Regions from separate parts of the Homo sapiens genome. Here region 2 is linked to region 1. Evidence: promoter capture Hi-C in human tissues and cell types (Jung and others, 2019). All regions are on one chromosome and are shown on one strand. Each heading gives the region's core, a stretch centred on a gene start or on the middle of the fragment in contact. The rest is flanking DNA. Distances are from core to core; before and after follow the strand shown.

Region 1 (3,285 bases), core at 364-2,863:
TACTCACTTTGTGTCCTCACACCTAAAAAAGCACCTGGCATAGTGTGGATGCTAACACATCGGTATCGAAGGGGTGAGGGAGTGAGTGGAGAAATGCTGCAATTCTAAAGCAATGCTCCAGCTGATCCGCGAGCCCTAGGAACAGCCCCAGCTTTTGCAAGTCCTCTGAGTGACCTTGTGAAACTTCCATAACCTCTCCAGGCCTTTGCTTTCCTAGTCTGCGAAATGGGACGGGTTTTCATTACACATTTGCATTTCATTGCAAATGTGTGACTCGGCAGCCCACCGGCCCCGGCGGGGTTCATCTTTCTTCTCAAGAGCGCTGGCCCCGGCTTCCAACCTGGGCTCTGGCGAGGCCGAAGGTGAGCGATTGCGTCATCATGCCTCTGGGCAGCTGAGGGAGAAGCCCTCCAGGGACATTCAGAGACTGGGACCAGAGTTTCTGAGAGGCCCTGGGCACAAGGTCAGGGCAGGAGGTCCAGGCAGCTGAGGTCTGAGCGCCACCCTCACTGCCCTTTCTTAGTCTCGCTGCCTCCCGCTGCCGCTGAGCAGCAGGGTAGTGAAGGGCAGACTCCCAGGGGCCGACCCTGGGGCGGGGCTGCTCGGCTCCGCGGAACCCACCGTCCGCCCCCGTCCGGCCGCCAGCCTCCTGCCCTCCGCGAGCCTCCTGGGCCGGGTTCCCGGAGCCCGGGCGCGCAGGCCCTGGCACCAGGGGGATTCTGCTCCCTCTGCCTTATGTTCTTTCTGAAAGGGGGTGGTGCACATTTTGGCCAGGGCCACGTGCAGAGCACTTTGCTGCAAAGCATCTCGATAGACCTCTTTCCACGGGGCTGTGGGTCCCCTTCCCCTGGGTGCTGGCTGGCTTAGCTCTGCTCGGGACCTGAGGGAGCGCTGCTGCAAATACCGACAGTAGAAAGCGAGCGAACGCGAAAGGCCCCAGGAAAGCCAGGCCAAGGGGGGTAGCCGGGTGCCAAAGCAGGCAGTCGGTGGGGAGAGCCCTGGTCGGCCGGCCGCTGGCTGCCTTCGCACCCACTTCCGCGCCCCGCCGTCGGCCTGGTCAGTCTGGTGGCTTTACACTAACAGAACCAGACGGGGAGGGAGAGGAGAGGCGAGAAGAGCGCAGAGGACAGAGGGGAGAGGGCATGAGGAGACGAGGAGGGAGAGGCAAGAATGCGAACAAGGAGACCTAGAGAGGAAGAGATGGAAGAGAGAAACGCCAGATTTGTGAGAGACGTGGAAGCAGAGAGAAACGAGAGTAAAAAAGAAGCGAGAGAGAAGTGGAGAGAAGGACCAAGTGAGAGCAGAGCTCTAGGAACGGACAAGGCCTCGTCCATGGGCTCTCAGCCGAGGTGTCACCAATGCCTCCTGCAAAGAATCAATCCTACGCCCGGCGCCTCTCAACCCACCCGCCTCTGCACGGCCCCAGGTCTCCCCCGGCCCTCCCTGCCCGGCCAGCTCACGCTTCTCCCCGACCGGCCCCCACCGCAAACCCCAAACGCCGCGCGGGAGGGAGGGAGGGAAGGAGGGAACAGCGAGAGAGAGAGGGAGGGGCTGCGGTAGGAGGCAACCATGTGGTTCCAGCTGAATTTTTTTTTTCCCTCTCTCTTTCTTCACTCCTTTTTCTTTCCAAACAGGGAAAAGTGTTCCACGAAGCGGTAGCGCCTTTTCGCCTCGCGTTTTCCTCCCTGACCCTGGTCCCGGCTCCCGTCCGGGCGCCAGCTGGTGGGGCGAGCGCCGGGAGCCCATCTGCCCCCAGGGGCACGGGGCGCGGGGCCGGCTCCCGCCCGGCACATGGCTGCAGCCACCTCGCGCGCACCCCGAGGCGCCGCGCCCAGCTCGCCCGAGGTCCGTCGGAGGCGCCCGGCCGCCCCGGAGCCAAGCAGCAGCTGAGCGGGGAAGCGCCCGCGTCCGGGGATCGGGATGTCCCTCCTCCTTCTCCTCTTGCTAGGTGAGTGCCTCTGGGAGGGCGGGAGTTTGGATGGCCGTGGGCAAACGCAGCCCTGCGTCCGGGAAAGACGCCGGTTCTGACCGGGTGTCCCTGCAGCCCCTGGAGTCAGCCGGCTTTTCAGTCCCTGCCTCCTGGCCACGGAGGAGCACATCTGGCAACCGAGGGCCGCCCAGTCGGCCATCGAGATTGTCTCGCACATCTGGGCCCTTGAACAGGCTTGGGGAACCGTTTGATGTGCAGGGTCCTCTTTAGGGCGGTGTTTAGTTTCTGGTGTATCTGGGAAAAGTGGAGAATTGGTGGAGGGAAGGTTTATCCAGGAATTTTTGTGCCAGGTTCCTGAGGGTGGGGGTTTTTTGTTGTTGTTTCAAACAGGCGCCTCCGAGGCTCAGATTAGAAACAGATGTGTTAAAGGGTGAGCAGAGTGGGGGATAGGCAGGGTTGGAGAGGAAAGGGGAGAGGGAAAAAGGGCAGGGCCCAAGGAGCACCAGGAAGATGCAAATGCCCCAAGTCACACAGGGAAGGAAGGAAAAGGGGAAAGGGGAAGGGTTGGGAAGGAGAGAGAAAAAGAGGAGAACAGGAATGTAAAACAGAAGAGCAAGGCTGGGGGAGTCCGAGCACAGAGAGTGAAGAAGACTTGGAAAAAACGCAGCAGAGGAACCAGAACAGAGGGAAATAGAGCAAGCACCACTTTTTCCTGAAACAGGCTCCAGAGCAAAGGGAAGAGTCCTCCTGAGCGTCCCTTCCTGGGGTCCCCCAGGCAGGACTCTTGGGGCCTCAGAGGCCCTGAGGCAGAGGCAGGTTTGCAGGAGAGGACATCAGGGATGTGGGTGGTAGGAGCCCACCGGAGTGACTGGAAATGTCTGAGGAGCCAGGGCAGGAAAGGCAGTCAGGGAGAGCCAAGGGCACGTCACTATGCACCCTGAAGCATGGGATCCACTGCAGACAGGCCCCACAGTTAGCTGGAGATCAGAAAATCAAAGAGCCAGCCAGTGGTCAAGAGTGAGCACTACCCTGAACACCAGGCCACGGGAGAGCTGGTCCTGGTTTTGAACTGACTAGCTGGGTGGCCTCAGACAACTTACTCCTTATCCAGGGCTTCCACGTCTTTAGCTCTGGAAAGAGAATACTAGATGGTTCCTAAGTCCCTTCTAGCCTACAACACCAGAGGTTTGAAGGAGGCTGGTGTCTAGAAGAACCACCAAATCCTGAAATACGTGGTTAGAGTTCTCTGTCTTTTTTGAAACTTTACAAACCAATTATACTGTATGCATACCCATCTTGGCCAGCCTCAGGCTGATAATCACTTAAGTTAGAGAAATGAAAGAGGTGGGCTAAGC
Region 2 (3,285 bases), core at 270-2,769, 140 kb after region 1:
GTATCTGAATGTCAATCCCTTATATGAGCCACTGCCCTGTGGGCTTCCATTTCTTCCTGAGTTAAGATTATTCAGAAGGTCGGGGATGGAGCTAAGCTGCCACCTGGTTAATTAAGGTCCCAACAGTGAGTTGTGATAGCCTAGGGGAGCAGGCTGTTACCTGTCATTACGTACGTGACAGATTTCAGTGGACTAGCTAATCTTAGCATATGCCAAAAAGCTAATTCATGGAGGAGCTGCAGTTTTTCTCTTTGGTACTGAAGGGCTACTAATGTCTGGGTATCTCAGTGGGAATTTGTAGCACGATTTGATATACTTCTCATTCCATATTTTCTCCAAGGTTACAAAAAATGACAAGTAGTACACACTTCTTTTTTTGAAGGGTTTTACTCTTGTTGCCCAGGCTGTAGTGCAATAGCACGATCTCATTGCAATGGTGCAAACCCTGTCTCCTGGGTTCAAGGGATTCTCCTGCCTCAGCCTCCCAAGTAGCTGGGATTACAGCCATGCGCCACCATTCCTGGCTAATTTGTATTTTTTAGTAGAGATGAGGTTTCTCCATGTTGGTCAGGCTGATCTCCCTACCTCAGGTGGTGCACCCGCCTCGGCCTCCCAAAATGCTGGGATTACAGGTGTGAGTCACTGCACCTGACAGCAATGCACGTTTTTGGCATGTTTCTTTTGTTTGGGTGAGAATCTTACCTGGGCTTCAGTTTTCCATAGGGGTGTGTTATCACTTGTGCAGGCTGGACTGGAACTCCTGGGTCCAAGTGGTCACCCAGCCTTAGTTCCAAGTAGCTGGCTCTACAGGTGTATGTCACTGCACATGGCCATACCATGTATTTGAGATGCTACAAACTTTTTTGATGCCTTGACTCAACGAGACTAAAGGGTAAATATACTTTGATCTCGTTTCATGTGGAATCTTAAAAATATGTGGAAGGTTTTCAGTGGTAGCTGTTACTGTAAATTTTTGAACTTCAGGTTAATGTTAGCTTAATGTTCATTAGCAAAACACAAAATTAGAGGAGTAAATATGGCAATGTTTCCCCTATACAGATAATAACTTGTTGGACATGTGTAATGTATAGCAAGGAATTGGGGCCTGGGAAGGTGGGAATTAATATTTGCTAGGTTTTCTCAGTTATTCGTATTATACTTTCATCTATTTATAAACCAGAATGTGTTTATAGATGATACTGAGGCTCAGGTGGACACTTAATGTCATCACATAGTCTAATCTGGGGAAATGGATTTTTTTTTTTTTTTGAGAGCCTCCAGCCTCCCTTACCTAGGCTGGAGTGCAGTGGTGCGATCTCACTGCAGACATTGCCTCCCACTTTTGCATCCTCCCACCTTTGCATTCTCCCACCTGACTAGCTGGGACACCATGCCCAGCTAATTTTCATATTTTCTATAGAGCGGGAGTTTTGCCATGTTGCCAGGCTGGTCTTGAATTTTTGACCTCAAAATGGTTTGCCCCACCTTGACCTCCCAAAGTGCCGAGATTACAGGTGTGAGCCACTGTGCCTGGCCTATTGTTTGTAATTAGGGTTCTGCTGTGGGCTAGTAGTTTAAAAAACCAGTAAAGATGTTTAAACCCTATAAATGTCTAATTAGCTGTTAGGTAAGGCTTAGAGAAAGAGAAGGTAACCATAGGGACAGCAGTGTCTACCACTTCCCATTGAATTTCGAGTTAATGGCAATTGCTTCTCCCCTTATTTGATTCTCCAAATAACCTTACAATGGAGGGATGTTTGGATGCTCTGGCTGTGCATGCACAAATCTACACGGTGGCAAAATTTGCTTTTGCAAGTTACTGTAAGGAGGTTTGAGTTTATAAGAGGAAACTCCATGACCTAGATGGTTCTGTCCCTGCTGCACAGGGCGCTACTGGATTGGGAAGACAGGCCAAAAAACTTAATCTCTAGGTCCAGTTTAGGAGTTACATGCAGGTTTCTGGTGAACTTGGCAATATGGTTATATTCTAAAATGTATTTTTATTACTATAGCTCTCTCAGTTTCTACTTGACCTTATTAGACATTTTTCTTTTTTTTTTTTTTTTTTGGAGATGGGAGTCTTGCTCTGTTTCCCAGGCTGGAGTGCAGTGGTGTGATCTCAGCTTGCTGCAGCCTCCACCTCCCGGGCTCAAGCAATTCTGCCTAAGTCTCCTGAGTAGCTGGGACTACAGGTGCACGCTGCCACACCCAGCTAATGTTTTGTGTTTTAGTAGAGATGGGGTTTCATCGTGTACCGAGGCTCAGTATCCTGAGCTCAGGCAATCTGCCCGCCTCCCAAAGTGCTGGGATTACAAGCATGAGCCACCACGCCTGGCCCTTAATAGACTTAAACTTCTAAGGCAATAGTATAAAGCCACAATAATAAAATTATCCAACAATATTACTACAATATTTGTTACATATAAAATTAAAAAATGACAATGCCCGTGAAAAATCCTTTGTCCAAACTATATTGAGTACTTACAATGTTCCAGGCTTTAGGCTTTCAAAGGAAAAGTGGTCTTTTGGATTCCATTAAGGTGGGATGAAGTGGTTGCAGGACATAAATAGAAACGCTGAGAGTTTCCGTATCTGTGGGTCTACGTACTGATGTAGTCATCTTTGTCCACTAGATGGCAGTAGCTATTTATAAAACTATCAGAGTACCCCGGGGGAAGCTGCTGTAGCATTGTCTGTGCTGTTTGTTGTGCTTTCTAGCTGGAAGCACAGCAAATAATGAAGAAGGAAAAGGAAGTCAGCTCTAAATATCCACAATTACCTTCCAGGCAAAGCATTCTTTTTCTCCTTTTTTTTTTTTTTTTTTTGAGATGGAATTTCGCTCTTGTTGCCCAGGCTGGAGTGCGATGATGAGATCTCAGCTCACTGCAACCTCCACCTCCCGGGCTCAAGCAATTCTCCTGCCTCAGCTTCCCGAGTAGCTGGGATTACAGCCATGCGCCACCATGCCCGGCTAATTTTGTGGTTTTGGTAGAGACAGGGTTTCTCCATGTTGGTCAGGCTGGTCTCGAGCTCCCGAGCTCGGGTGATCCACCCGCTTCAGCCTCCCAAAGTGCTGGGATTACAGGTGTGAGCCACTGCGCCCGGCCCAGCATTCTCAACTGAGCAAGTGCCCTGCTTAGGTGGGAGTAATGGCTTGAGTTGAGATCTCAGGATACTTGGGCAATGGGTATGGAGGGATGGGTAATACAGACAGGTTTAGAATACAGAGGGTGAGGTGAAGAAAAAGCTCAGAGAATATAGCCTTTCCGGAGCCACACTGGCTAG

The links. The method cuts DNA at HindIII sites, captures the fragments that hold promoters and counts their contacts. A contact is called where the count stands out against the background at its distance.
Region 2: a fragment that was not itself captured here is called in contact with the fragment with the promoter of CLMP in region 1 in 1 of the 25 tissues and cell types used here (aorta).

The regions. Positions count from the first base shown.
Region 1 is chr11:123,193,576-123,196,860 of GRCh38, reverse strand. CLMP (CXADR like cell adhesion molecule) reads left to right here and starts at 1,613. Exons shown (of 7, transcript NM_024769.5): 1 at 1,613-1,948. The coding sequence starts at 1,921. The HindIII fragment of the contact is 11,250 bases long and covers 1-3,285 here.
Region 2 is chr11:123,053,821-123,057,105 of GRCh38, reverse strand. No RefSeq gene overlaps it. Among named protein-coding and RNA genes, the nearest start is that of SNORD14E, 2.7 kb to the left of the region's middle. The HindIII fragment of the contact is 9,040 bases long and covers 1-3,285 here.